Regions from separate parts of the Homo sapiens genome. Here all the other regions are linked to region 2. Evidence: promoter capture Hi-C in 16 types of primary human blood cells and fetal thymus (Javierre and others, 2016). All regions are on one chromosome and are shown on one strand. Each heading gives the region's core, a stretch centred on a gene start or on the middle of the fragment in contact. The rest is flanking DNA. Distances are from core to core; before and after follow the strand shown. Region 1 overlaps CHP1 (calcineurin like EF-hand protein 1). Region 2 holds the start of CHAC1 (ChaC glutathione specific gamma-glutamylcyclotransferase 1). Region 3 overlaps NUSAP1 (nucleolar and spindle associated protein 1).

The links. Contacts are between HindIII fragments. The CHiCAGO score rates a contact against its expected background, and 5 or more counts as called.
Region 1: a fragment that was not itself captured here is called in contact with the fragment with the promoter of CHAC1 in region 2 in 3 of 17 cell types (endothelial precursors, M1 macrophages and megakaryocytes); the score reaches 6.4 in endothelial precursors.
Region 3: a fragment that was not itself captured here is called in contact with the fragment with the promoter of CHAC1 in region 2 in 1 of 17 cell types (endothelial precursors); the score reaches 5.1 in endothelial precursors.

Annotation. Positions count from the first base shown.
Region 1 is chr15:41,253,019-41,257,715 of GRCh38, reverse strand. It overlaps CHP1 (calcineurin like EF-hand protein 1), which reads right to left. Exons shown (of 7, transcript NM_007236.5): 3 at 726-806. Among named protein-coding and RNA genes, the nearest start is that of CHP1, 24 kb to the right of the region's middle. The HindIII fragment of the contact is 164 bases long and covers 3,223-3,386 here.
Region 2 is chr15:40,952,080-40,956,935 of GRCh38, reverse strand. It overlaps CHAC1 (ChaC glutathione specific gamma-glutamylcyclotransferase 1), which reads right to left and starts at 3,465. Exons shown (of 3, transcript NM_024111.6): 1 at 3,122-3,465; 2 at 2,673-2,708; 3 at 424-1,563. The coding sequence starts at 3,352. The coding sequence ends at 1,162. RefSeq lists enhancers at 687-1,237, 3,663-4,256 and a silencer at 3,732-3,991. The HindIII fragment of the contact is 14,830 bases long and covers 1-4,856 here.
Region 3 is chr15:41,357,301-41,362,402 of GRCh38, reverse strand. It overlaps NUSAP1 (nucleolar and spindle associated protein 1), which reads right to left. Exons shown (of 11, transcript NM_016359.5): 6 at 4,145-4,254. Among named protein-coding and RNA genes, the nearest start is that of NUSAP1, 27 kb to the right of the region's middle. The HindIII fragment of the contact is 1,388 bases long and covers 2,858-4,245 here.

The sequences.
Region 1 (4,697 bases), core at 2,055-4,554, 300 kb before region 2:
TGGTGGCATGTGGCTGTAATCCCAACTATCTCGGAGGCTGAGGCAGGAGAATCGCTTGAACCCGGGAGGCAGAGGTTGCAGTGAGCCGAGATGGCACCACTGTACTCCAGCCTGAGCGACCGAGCAAGACTCTGTCTTAAAACAAACAAACAAACGAAAAAAGGATCTCAGTTATTTTTAATATTGATTATATATGGAAATAATATTTTAAATATATTAAATAAAATATATATTACCAAAGTTAACTTATTTTTACTTTTTAAATGTGGTTACTAGAAAATGTAAAATTACGTATGTGGCTTGCATTATATTTTTATTGGCTACTACTAAGAAGAGAGCACACAAATGAGGCAAAATGTTAACAATATAACAGTAGATGCATCAGGGCAATAAATATACAAGTATTCTCCGAATTACTTTTAACTTTTGCAACTTTTTTGTAAATTTGAAATTATTTCCAAATAAACATTTTTTAAAAGTCTAGTTTTACATCAATGATAAACATAAGAATTTTGAAGATAGGCTCATATATCTATTTGAAGTTTAAAACACACAGGAGGGTAGAACAGAAGAGATATTCTAGAAATGACAAAATTAGAATTGCTCAATATAATCAGGGGGTATCACAGTCTGAGATGGCACAACCAATATCATTATTCCAGATTAGCAAATAATTTAGGTTGTGATAGCCTCAGGAAGGAAGTCCAACAACTGTACTGACTCACCCCTCTGGAAAGAAGGCATTGATGATCCGGTCCCCCAGTGGGTTGATGGCAAGTTCTGGAATCCTCTGGAAATCTTCCCGGCTGCCAAGAGAATCACCTTGAGTTAGATAGAGATCATTGCCCTTAGCATGAACTCCTTAAGTCAGGAGGTAACAGGGTGTAACCTAGCAAGAATATTACCTCCTGGAATTTACTTCTGTGGCAAATTATACCAAATAACTGCAAAGAATAGCACTTTAATAGCTGCCAAGTGTTTCTTGCACCAACTCAGAAGTGGAAGGAGCCAGATTTGATTACGCCACATTCCAGTGAATTTAGCACACAGGTTACGTCAATAAGCCAACTGATGGACAAATACTAAGCTGTCCCTTAGTAAATGATTTCTTGAACATTAGCATTGCGTACCTAGTTATTAAGTTTGGAAAGTGAACAGCAAATGGAAAGTATCAAATACTGCAGAACTTGAATATGGGGACAAACACTTAGAGGGGTCTCCATATCCTTGTTAAGATTTTTAGGCACTTACAAAATGCAAGGAATTCTTAGGTGCTATTTACATGCAAGGAAATAATGTGACAACCAATTGATTTCCTTGTTCTGACTCTGGCTTTTTCTCCATTTCCATGTTCTGTGGACTAGGGCTACAGAAGTATTTAACCCTCAAACATGACAAGAGCAGTCATCCTCACATGACTTAGGCGAGGTTATACCAAAGCGAATATTGTCAGTTACCATTCATCACATATATATCATGTGCTGCTCTGTTTACATACATTATTCTCATTTCTTCACGCCAATGTTTTATGTATACCCTTTTAGAGCTGAGGAAATTGAGAGTCAGGAAGATAAAGTAACTTGCCCAAAGCCACACTACTCCTAAGTAGCAGAACTGTGATTTAAATCTAAGTCTGTAAGTCAAAGTATGTGTTCTTTTTCTAAAAACCATATTTCTTTCCTATATTGAACTTTTTTTTGAGACAGAGTCTTGCTCAGTCACCCAGGCTGGAATGCAATGGCATGGTCTTGGCTCACTGCCACCTCCACTTCCCAGGTTCAAGCGATTCTCCTGCCTCAGCCTCCCAAGTAGCTGGGATTACAGGCACTCTCCACCACGCCTGGCTAGTTTTTTGTACATTTAGTAGAGACGGAGTTTCACCATGTTGGCCAGGCTGGTCTTGAACTCCTGACCTCAGGTGATCTGCCGGCCTCGGCCTCCCAAAGTGCTGGGTGGGATTACAGGAGTGAGCCACGGTGCCCAGCCCTAATATTGAACCTTTTGAATGAAAGTTACTCTCCCCCAAATTCTTTATTTTTATTTTTTTGAGATGGAGTTTCGCTCCCAGGCTGGAGTGTAGTGGCTTGATCTCTGGGTTCACTGCAACCTCCTCCTCCCGGGTTCAAGCGATTCTACTGCTTCAGTCTCCCAAGTAGCTAGCATTACAAGCGGGTGCTACCATGCCCGGCCAATTTTTGTATTTTTAGTAGAGGTGGGGTTTTACCACATTGGCCAGGCTGGTCTTGAACTCCTGACCTCAGGTGATCCACCCACCTCAGCCTCCCAAAGTCCTGGGATTACAGGCGTGAGCCACCGCACCCAGTCCCCCAATTTTTCAATAAGTATTTTTTAAAAACTTTCTTTTGTTGGTTCCTGGGCCAAGAATACAAAGCTGTCTACAACTTATCTGTGCTGCAGTCTTCAAAAATATCAATGTCATGGAGGACAAAGAAAAGCAGAGGATTGTTCCAGATCAAGGGGGGGCTAAAGAGACACACAACAAAACCCAACACATGATCCCGGACTAGGAAAAAAACTGCTATAAGGACATTATTGGATAATATGTGAAAATGAAGCATGGACCATATAAAATATGGAATATTACATAATGGTACTGTTTCAAAATGCAACTTTCTTGATTTTGATCTGAGAATGTCCTTTCTATAGGAAATAAACAGTGAAGTATGTGACAAAATGTTAACAATTGGTGAATCTGGGTATCAGAATAAAAGTTATCTTGTATTGTTCTTGTAACTTCAAGTTTAAAATTATTTCCAGATAAAAAGTTAAAAAAAAGATTATAAACTAGATTTTACTCCTGCCTTCAAGAAGTTTACTTACAGACAGATAAAATGTATACCTCCACCCTCTTTGTAATATATGCTAGCAAAGACGGAAGATAATAAAATACTCCTACTGTACCCAGGAGACTTCACGCTCTTTTCCTCTTGTGGTTTAACGTTTACGTGGTGCTTAATTAACTCAGCAAGCTCTTCTCCACCACATTTGGTGACACAGGTAGAAACTGACCTAGTGGACTGAACACAAAGCTCTGGAACAATCATCCTGGATTCTAGTCCTTCTTGACCATTTAGTGTAATAATTTTATATCAATGCATGAACCAGAAGAAGTCATTCATAAGATAACTGGATTGCTTAAGATGATGAAAGAGAAAATTACCGAGGTCCTGATTATTTAATTCAACAAACATGTACTAAGCTTTTATTACATAATTTGTTCTGTAATACAAAGTCTACACTATCATCAAAATGTAGCTCCTCCTGTCTGACAGAGGTCAAGAAACAATAACTACTCACTTTTAAATTAAGACTAAGGCTGATTTGAATTGCATGGCTACATACTTCAGTTTAATGTCTAACAAGCTTAAGAAACTTTAGCTGAGAAAAGGCAGTTTAAATACCAAGTCTAGTATCAAGTGGTGATGCACAACCTAGCCTGAACTTCAGTCTCAATAAGGAGGTGTACACTTGGCCTTCCGATGGACCTGTCCTTTGATACTTTCTAACTCTACTCTTAGAATTTAGATTGTATATATAATGTAGTTCCAGTCACCCAGATCAAGGACAGTATTGCTAAAAGTATTAAAGTTAAAAAGAAAGAGGGCTGGGTATGGCAGCTCAGCCTATAATCCCAGCACTTTTGGAGGCCAAGGTGGAAGAACTGCTTCAGGCTAGGAGTTCGAGACCAGCCTGGGCAACAGAGCAAGACCACATCTCTAAAAAGTTTAAAAAAAAAAAAAAAATTAGCCAGGCATGGTGGCACGTGCCTGTAGTCCCAGCTACTTGGGAAGCTGAAGCGGGAGGATTGTTTGAGCCTAGAAGGTCAAGGCTGCAAGGAGCCATGGTAACATCACTGCCCTCGAGCCTGGGTGACAGAGTGAGACCCTGTTTCAAAACAGAAAAAACAAAACAAACAGAAAGAGTATAAAAAATAATTTGTCAGCCGGGCGCAGTGGCTCACACCTGTAATCCCAGCACTTTGGGAGGCCGAGGCGGGAGGATCATGAGGTCAAGAGATGAAGACCAACCTGGCTAACACGGTGAAACCCCGTCTCTACTAAAAAAACAAAAAATTAGCTAGGCGTGGTGACGGGCACCTGTAGTCCCAGCTACTCGGGAGACTGAGGCAGGAGAATGGCATGAACCTGGGAGGTGGAGGTTGCAGTGAGCCAAGATTGCGCCACTGCACTCCAGCCTGGTGACAGAGCAAGACTCCGTCTCAAAATAAATAAATAAATAAATAAATAAATAAATAAATAAATAAATAAATACTTTGTCAACTGTTAAATAAATAATATACGAACAAGTTATTATTACTGGTTGCTTTATAGTAGAATGTAGATCTGGGCAGTTTCTCTAAAACTTAGATTCTCAAATTTACCCATCAACATAAACCTAATAGAAAAAAATAAATACTCCAAAGTGGCCTAAACACCACAAGCATAAGATCCATCCGAAGGCCGGGCACAGTGGCTCACGCCTGTAATCCCAGCACTTTGGGAGGCTGAGGCAGGTGGATCACGAGGTCAAGAGATCAAGACCATCCTGGCCAACATGGTGAAACCCCGTCTCTACTAAAAACACAAAAATTAGCTGGGCATGGTGGCGCGAGCCTGTAGTCCCAGCTACTCTGGAGGCTGAGAAAGGAGAATCACTTGAACCTGGGAGGTGGAGGT
Region 2 (4,856 bases), core at 2,216-4,715:
CACGTGCTCCTTTAGCAGGACACCAGGGTTCTGGCCTAGCTGTTAGGAAGAGGCAGCCGCTGGCCCTGCAGCTGGAGGAAGAGCTGGTCTGAGCTCCAAGCCTGCCAGCCTCCTTGGGGCAGCTGGGCAGGATGAGACAGAGTCCAGGTTGGTGGCAAGGACACTGCTCACAGGGCTGCCAAGTAGAGCATGAGCTGAATTCTGCACAACTCAGGGGGTACTATTTGCATGCGTAAGGCATGAACTGTACCCATGAGAGTGATGTCACCTGCTAATTCTGCCTGCCCAGCTGCCCCTCCTGGGAAGAGAGGGAAGGAGAGGAAGAGGGAGCCCTTTCCCCTCTTAGGAGCCTTCCAGGGCATCACCACCTCACTTGCCCCAAACCCCCATCTGAGAAAGAACCACATTCCGGCACAGCACAGATAAAGAGATAGTTTTATGGGTAACAGTATGGGACAGACTGGGAAGGTTGCCAGGGCCTGTAGTGATGAGCTTCCCAGGAATAGACCAACACACAGGCAGGAGTGGCCCAGACAGACAAGTAGATAGACAGACAGACAGAGGGACAAGAAAACAACCAAGTGGGTAAGAGGCCCAGGCCAGGCTCAGCAGCTGTGTCCAGGCATCAGCTCCAGCTCTGCTCTGGGGAACTGGTGGAGGAGAAGGGCTGGCCGGGGCCTCAGTCCTTACAGGGCTCCTTCTCCTCATGCCCTACTATCCCTCATCCAGCCTGCTGGGATCCTTGGCAGGTGGAATTCCCAGGGCTATGGATGGCTGGGCTGAGTGAGCAGAGGATCGAGGCTCTTGGAGACTCCCTGGGGAGGTGGAGGCCTGGGTGGTGTGGGGTTAGCAGCAGCACTGGGGGGAATCTGGTCAAGTTCCAGGATGGGGCCACTGCTCAGCAGGGCCCCTGTGTCCAGGGCAGGCCCTCCACCTGCCCACCACACCAACATGGTGCAATAAATAAAGTTTCAAGTAGTAAGTCAGTGTCAAGCAGGAGAGCTGCAGGCTGGCAGACAGGCAGGGACTGAGAAAGAGAAGCCTCCAGCCACCCACCATATCTGCTCAGTGGGCTCAAGCGGTCGCAAGTCTGTCTTGTGCACTGGAGTGGGTGTCTGGCCCTGATGTCCACATGAGCACTCCCCGCAGGGGCTCAGCCCCTCACACCAGCGCCAGAGCCTGCTCGGTGGGGCAGAAGCAGGGCAACATGGTGCCCACAGCGTCCACGATGGCTGCCAGGTGCTCGTCCTGCGCCTGAGGCCCACAGAGCTGCATGAAGTCTGCCAGACGCAGCAAGTATTCAAGGTTGTGGCCGGAGAAGCCCCGGCAGGCCAGGATCTGCGTGGCAATGGCCTCTTCAGGCGCAGGGCCCAGGTAACCAGGGTTCTGTGGGGTGGCCACATAGGCCAATGCCTTCAGTGGTTGGTCAGGAGCATCTTGGGGATAGAAGGTGACCTCCTTGGTATCGTAGCCACCAAGCACTGCCTCTCGCACATTCAGGTACTTCAGGGCCTTGCTTACCTGCTCCCCTTGCACTTGGTATGCCACGCCCCAAGTGCAGCCCTGGGAAGAAATAGGGACACCCGGGGTCAGTCATGACAGCTCCTTGCTGCTCCCTCTCCTATCCTAACATGCCACCCCCACCCAGGACTGTGCTCTATAAGGGAGGCTGTGGTCGGCTGATGAGCCATCTGGTGGCAGTACCTCAAGCCCTTGTACTCTCTTTGTTAAGAACAGTTGAAAGGCCAGGCGTGGTGGCTCATGCTTGTAATCCCAACACTTTGAGAGGCCAAGGCAGGTGGATCACTTCAGGTCAGGTGTTCGAGACCGGCCTGGCCAAAATGGTGAAACCCCATCTCTACTAAAAATACAAAAATTAGCCAGGCATGGTGGCGTACGCCTGTAACCCAGCTACTCGGGAGGGTGAGGCAGTAGAATCGTTTGAACCCAGGAGGTGGAGGTTGCAGTGACTTCAGCCTGGGTGACAAGGGTAAGACTCCGTCTTAAAAAAAAAAAAAAAGGCATAGTTGAGGCCAGGTGCAGTAGCTCATGCCTGTAATCCCAGCATTTTGGGAGGCTGAGGGTGGGCAGATCACTTGAGATCAGGAGTTCCAGACCAGCCTGGCCAATATGGTGAAACTCCGTCTCTACTAAAAATACAAAAATTAGCTGAGTGTGGTAGCGCATGCCTGTAATCCCAGCTACTCGGGAGGCTGAGGTGGGAGAATCGCTTGAATCTGGAAGGCAGATGTTGCAGTGAGCCAAGATTGCATCACTGCACTCCAGCCTGGGCAACAGAGCAAGACTCTGTCTCAAAAACAAACAAACAAAACAACAACAACAACAACAAAAAAAAAAAACAGTTGACAAAGTGGTCTAGTACCAGGGAAGACAGGATTCCTCCTCAAAGTGTGGTCCAGGATGTGGTGGCATCACCTGTAAGCTAGTTAGGAATGCTGTGTCTCAGGACCCATTCTCATGCTACTGAACTAAAATCTGCATTCTAACAAGATCCTCATGTGATTTGGTGAGAAGCACTGAGCTAGAACACGTTTCTACTCTGCCAGAGAAGCATCAGACAGAGCTAGCCTGCAGCCAAGAGCCTATGAGCTCTCTCTGCTGGTCCCCCTTCACACTGGGCCAGGGTTCCCCTTCATGATTCGGGCACTTACCTCATGATCTTCAAGGAGCGTCACCACACGGCCAGGCTAGGGAGGGAAGAAATATTTTGAAATAGACAAGTTAGAAATCAGCTCTGCCATCAGCAAGGAAACCTTTATCAATCCCGCTGACCCGGGCCTCCAAGTGCCCCACTCTGCATGCTGAGTCCCATTCATGCAGGGGAAGGTGGGGGAGCGATGCACGGATGTAGGAGAAACGTCCAGAAACACTGACATGTCAGTGGTCCCAGTTGGTGATCAACACAGGGATCCACAGGTTCACAGACTCCAGCCATCACAGTGATGCACTGGGCACATACATTTAAATGAGCCACAAACCCCAGACACAGGTTTACACATTTCTTTCTATTGGCCCAGAGAGCCCCGGACATTCCAGGGCACTGGCGCCCAGTATCCCGCCCCCAACCCCCTCACTCCCCTGGGCACGGTTGGATGCTCACCATCTTGTCGCTGCCCCGATGGAAGGTGTCTCCCTGCCAGAAACGGCGGCTGTAGCCGCGCACGAAGCCCACACGGCTGTCGCTGTAGGCGAAGTCGGGCCTCCACACCAGGGAGCCGTACCCGAAAATCCACAGCGCTTGAGGGTCGCCGTCGTTTCGGGGGAACTGAGCGGACGGCGTAGGGGACTGCGAGGTGGGCGGGGTGTTCGGGGCTGCAGACTCCTGCTTCATGGTGCCTGGCACAGGGATAGGCCCAGGCGGCCTCCGGGGCTGGTCTCCGGCGTGGGCACGGAAAGACCGACGGACGCACACACCTGGCCTGGCACCGCTCGGTAGCTCCAGCTGAGCGCCCCCCATGGAGGCGCCCTTTAAACCTTCTTGCCGGGAGACCACGCCCACCGCGGCCAGCTGCCGCGGTGATTGGGGTGGGGCAAATCCCCTTTTGGCCAATCAACTTCGGATTCTGCTTCTCACTTAACCGCGCCGCGGGCCCAGCGCGCCCGCTGATTGGTTCAGCTCCACCTCTGTGGCAAACCTGGCAGGAGTGATGCAACGGCAGGGGAGGTTTCTCCAGCGCCGGCATGCAGCAAGGGCGCCTCGGATTGCGTCAGGCGGCGGGCAGGGGGCACCCGCCGGGCCCAGGGCGGGCACCGGGCGGGCGTCTCCCCAGCCGCCCCCTCATGACCTGGGCCCCTTGGAGGTACGGCGAGCGAGTCCCAGGCGGTGTCAGCCCAGCCTTGCCGCTAGTGCATCTGGCCGAGTCCCTGCCAGCCTAGGCGGCACAGACTCAGTCCCAAGTCGAGTCCAGGGCACGTCCAGAAGGAGCGCTCTGGGCGTCGTAAACTTCCGTCTCTGGGGCCCCTCCTGAGATCATGCACTGCGGGAAAGCTGTCGGAGGCACCGTCCGCATTCCGCTCAAGTGCCTCACGCCGTTGGCCATTGTGAGCAAATGGAGAAACTGGGCCACGGGGCTGCAGGGGGTTCTGCAGAGACTGCGGGGCTGAGTTAGGTAGGCCAGGCGCCCGGAGCTTGCAGGCCTCACATGGGCTACGCCCCGGACCAGGTGTGGGACCCCTCGAGCCCAGGTAGGCTCGGGGAAGAGCCTGTTAGAGCGCTTGGACCGACCGGCAGTCACTTTGGAGGTGGTGGCTGCACCTGCGGAGAAAGGCTATAAAGATGCAAAAGCCAGGCTAGTCTTGCCCCCAAGGCGATGGGTTTAATTCTTCCTGGACGTGAGATTTTGCAGCAATGATTAATCCATAGGCACAAGGTTCCGGGAGCAGCGGGCAAGGAGGGCCCAGTGAGGCCCCCACAAGACTATGGCCAGCTACTGGTCTTCTCCCTCGGCTTCTGGCCTCCCAGCCGAGTCCACAGGCCGCCGGGGGTTGACCCAATACGCAGCAAGGGACTGCCCTCAGGGGATGTCACTGACTGTAAAAGGGAAACAGAGGCAGCTGAAGGCCTTCTCTCTAAACTGGCCAGGAGATGGCTGGCAGGGGCAATGTGCAACATGGCTTCTCATTCGATTCTAATTCAATATTTAAACTAAACGTGATCTTCACACTTCACATATTCATTCCGAAGGTGTCGCAGATATAAGTGGGAAACTTGCACAACAGTGTGTATAGTACAAAGCTATTTCTTTAAAAACAAAAAGTATTCGTGTAATAAATAATCTGGAAGAATATACCTAAACAGTTAGCAGAGGCTGGCACCAGAGGAGGACTTTCAGTAT
Region 3 (5,102 bases), core at 2,302-4,801, 410 kb before region 2:
TACTTAAAACAGATAATATATACCATTAATATAGATAAATAAGAATAATAATTGAGAAAAAGCAAATCTGCATAAAAATAGCCAATTATAAAATATAGAGATTTATAACTATATAAGGTACCTTGGAATACAAGTTTTCCAATCTTTTTATTATAAATAAATAGATAAATTAATTAAAATAAATTAATTAAATGTAGGTATATATGTATTTGTTTATTTGAGATGGGGTTGTTCTATGTTGCCCAGCCTGGTCTTTGACTCCTGGGCTCAAGCAACCCTCCCACCTCAGCCTCCCAAGTAGGTGGGATAATAGGCATGAGCCACCACACCCAGATAGTTTTCTGATCTTTTTAGAGGGCCATTTGACAACTAGATCAAACAAGTCTGTCTTTTGTTATCATAAAAGTCAAAGAGAGGCTGTCATGGCCAGAATGATCTCTTTAGGATATCTGCTTATTACTGTCCATCACCATCTAAATGACCAAGCCCCAAATGTGCCAGGAGCAACTTCATCTCAGGTATGGTGAAGTTATTGTAATTTTTTTTTTTAATTCTCTAGTCTCCAAAGAGATCATACCAAGTTATATATCTGATAGGCCAGTTCCTTAAACATTCAGGGTGAACAGTGTTATTTTAGAACTAAACTCATTCAGATGGGTCTACCAGGCTGGAGTTATACTAAAAAGTAAGATAAACTATTCGTTTATTCAACACATTTTCTAGAGCAATACTCAACGTTTATGGTTGAGACAGTCGTTCTTGCTCTGTCCTTAACTTTTACTTAGAAAATTATGTCATCCATATTACAAAATATAGAAAGCAGCAGCTTGACTCTTTTTTTTTCTTTAGAGATGGAGTCTCACTGTATTGCCCAGGTTGGTCTTCAACACTGGGGCTCAAGTGATCCTTCGGCCTAACCCTCCCAAAGTTGTGGATTGACAGGTGTGAGCCACTGTGTCTGGCTGAAACATTTTTTTAAATTAACTTAAATTATTATTATTTTTTTTTTGAGATGGAGTTTCACTCTTGTTGCCCAGGCTGGAGTGCAATGGCATGGTCTCGGCTCACCGCAACCTCTGCCTCCCGGGTTCAAGCAATTCTCCTGCCTCAGCCTCCCGAGTAGCTGGGATTACAGACATGCGCCACCATGCCAAGATAATTTTGTATTTTTAGTAAAGATGGGGTTTCTCCATGTTGGTCAGGCTGGTCTCAAACCCCTGACCTCAGGTGATCCGCCTGCCTCAGCTTCCCAAAGTACTGGGATTACAGGTGTGAGCCACCACGCCCTGGCCTATTTTTTTTGTTTTTTGAGATGGAGTCTTGGTCTGTTGCCCAGGCTGGAGTGCAGTGGTGTGACCTCCATGCACTGCAACCTCCACCTCCTGGGTTCAAGCGATTCTCCTGTCTCAGCTTCCTGAGTAGCTGGGAGTACAGGCACCCACCACCATGGCCAGGTAATTTTTGTATTTTTAGTAGAGACAGGGTTTTGCCATGCTGGCAAGATCTGTCGAACCCGGGAGGTGCAGGTTGCAGTGAGCCAAGATCGCACCACTGCACTCCAGCCTGAGTGACACAGTGAGACTCATCGCAAAAAAAAAAAAAAAAAAAAGATGGATAAACAGTGCCTTCAAATGTGGTAACAGTGAGGACAGGAGTGGTGGCTCACGCCTGTAATCCCAGCACTTTGGGAGGCTGAGGTGGGTGGATCACCTGAAGTCAGGAGATCGAGACCAGCCTGGCCAACATGGTGAAACCCCATCTTTACTGAAAATATAAAAATTAGCAGGGGCTGGGCGCCGTGGCTTATGCCTGTGATCCCAGCACTTTGGGAGGCTGAGGCAGGTGGATCACAAGGTCAGGAGTTCAAGACTAGCCTGGCCAACATAGTGAAACCCCGTCTCTACTAAAAATACAAAAAATTAGCCAGGCGTGGTGGCAGGCACCTATAATCCCAGCTACTCAGGAGGCTGAGGCAGGAGAATTGCTTGAACCTGGGAGGTGGAAGTTGTGGTGAGCCAAGATCACGCCATTGCACTCCAGTCTGGGCAAGAAGAGTGAAACTGTGTCAAAACAAACAAACAAACAAACAAACAAAAATTAGCCGGGTGTGGTGGTGGTTGCCTGTAATCCCAGGTACTTGGGAGGCTGAGGTGGGAGAATCACTTGAATCCAGGAGGTGGAGGTTGCAATGAGCCAATATTGTGTCACTGCACTCCAGCCTGGGCAACACAATGTGACTCCATCTAAAAAAAATAAATAAAATTACAAATACAAATATTAGCTGGGTGTGGTGGTGGGCACCTGTAATCCCAACTACTTGGGAGGCTGAGGCAAAATAATCTGCTGCATCCGGGAAGCAGAGGTTCCAGTGAGGCAAGATCGCACCATTGCACTCCAGCCTGGGTGACAGAGTGAGACTGAGTCTCAAAAAAAAAAAAAGTTTGACAAACAGTGCCTTCAAATGTGGTAACAGTGAGGATGGGAGCAATGGCTCATGCATGTAATACCAGCACTTTGGGAGGTGGGTTGATCACCTGAGGTCAGGAGTTCAAGACCAGCCTGGCCAACATGGTGAAAACCCGTCTCTACTAAAAATAAAAAAATTAGCTGGGTGTGGTGGTGGGCGCCTGTAATCTCAGCTACTGGGGAGGCTAAAGGCAGGAAAATCACTTGAATCAGGGAGGCAGAGGTTGCAGTGAGCTGAGACTGTACCATTGCCCTCCAGTCTGGGCAACAAGAGCGAAACTCTGTCTCAAAAAAAAAAAAGAAAAGAAAAGAAAAAAAATGGTTGTAACAGTGGTTTTACATCGTTAAAATGAATGTTTATTATTTCAATTAAGCTTCTCACCAAGAAGCTTAAGTACTTAAATTATTTACAATTTATCACCCAGTGAGTTTTCCTCTTGGCCCTAGCTGCCAGAAAACTTAAACTCAGCTGAGTGACTGATGGTAGTAAATACTGTACCTACTAACAGTGCTAATTTTCTGCCGCTTTTAAATTGACTATACTATTTTATATTTAATACCATAAACTTACATTATTTTGAGAATAGGCCTTAAATTCTTTTTGAGAAATAGGGAAGTTATGTAAAATAAACATGGGGTTAAGAATTAAATACAGCGAATAGAAATAAATATAATCTGGTGGCTCACACCTGTAATCCCAGCACTTTGGGAGGCTGAGGTGGGAGGATCACTTGAGCCTAGGCGTTCAAGGAGAGCCTGGGAATCATAGGGAGACCCTGTCTTTATGAGAAAAATACATAAATCCATAAATATTTAAAAATGTGTTTCCTGCCCTCCATTCGGCACTGCCTTAACACCAGATACCAATAACATCAACTTGCTAGAATGTTACTCACTACTTTGCTAACTCAGCCTCAGAGTTGACTTTATCACCTTCTCTTACTTGAGGAGGCTTTGAGTCCTGTGGAACCTGGACTGAAAGCCCTCGAGGGAGCTGTTACCACAGGAACCCTTCAGGTTTGCCACTATTAATCACCCATTTTCCTTTACATAAGGGACGAGGGAAAGAAGATGGCTTCAGCCATAAGTTGGTTCATCATCAATGAAAGTAATAGGCAAAACATCTGAATATGGAAAGTAGAATGACATTGCCATTTTGGAAATAGTTTCTCATAGTCAGGATTCACTGTTTTCTTTTTTTTTGAGACGGAGTCTCACTCTGTCACCCAGGCTGGAGTGCAGTGGCGCGATCTCAGCTCACTGCAATGTTGGCCTCCTGGTTCAAGTGATTCTCCTGCCTCAGCCTCCTGAGTAGATGGGATTACAGCCATGTGCCACCCCCTACTAATTTTCTGTATTTTTTGTAGAGACAGGGTTTCACCATGTTGCCCAGGCTGGCCTTGAACTCCTGACCTGAGGTAATCCACTTGCCTTGGCCTCCCAAAGTGCGGGGATTACAGGCATGAGCCACTGCGCTTGGCCATGGATTCACTGTTTTATCTAGAGGACTTTGAAAATTCTCAGGGTAGGGGAAAGCAAGTTTTAGATAAAGATATATTAAATTCAAACAAATCTACTGGTAGAGTGACAGCCAGTTGTTGTAACCACGGTGTTATATAGTTTCAAAATTATAATCAAACAGTTTAGTTCCATTAAGAACATAATTTTATCTACATACCTTCAGTTCATTCATGGAATTGTGTTCTTCAAAATGTTTCTTTTTTCTCTCAATATATTGATCAATGGACTCCATTTCCTTAAAATGAGCTTCATGAAGCTTCTTAAAGTCTAGAATGTTCCAATATAAAAATTAATAACAAAACAAAATCCATTTATTTATCTTCTCTGTGTTTTTCTGTTAACACTTATTCTCTTCTTTGCATCCCTGACATTCAACTTCAATATAATTTTTGCTAAAACATTAATTTCAAAATACTTAGTTTTTGGAAACTCAGGGGCAAAGCACATTCATCTTATAAACTATCAAACATTCACCATCTCCCCACTGACAAATTTCACTAAATTGACATCTTGGTTTAATCCAGAGGATTAGAGTAGAAGATTTATCTTCTCCCCTACCAATTAGTCACAAGTGGTCTTTATTTAATAATGAATTTGATATTTTATAATGCTGTATGTCAAGGACTGACAAATTTATTCTATAAAGGGCTAGATAAAAGTATTTAAGACTTGGCTGGTCATGGTGGCTCAACACCTGTAATCTCAGCACTTTGGGAAGCCAAAGCGGTCAGATCACCTGAGGTCAGGAGTTCGAGACCAGCCTGACCAACATGGAGAAACCCCATCTCTACTAAAAATACAAAAATTAGCCAGGTGTGGTGGCGCACGCCTGTAATCCCAGCTACTCGGGACACTGAGGCAGGAGAATCGCTTGAACCCGGGAGGTGGAGGTTGCAGTGAGCCTAGATTGCGCCATTGCACTCCAGCCTGGGCAACAAGAGCAAAACTTCGTCTCAAAAAAAAAAAGTATTTTAGGCTTTATGGCCACATATGGTATGGTCTCTGTCTCATATTCTTCTTGTTTTTATGTTATTTATTTATTTATTTTGAGACGGAGTCTTGCTCTATTGCCCAGGCTACAGTGCAATGGCATGATCTTGGCTCACTGCAACCTC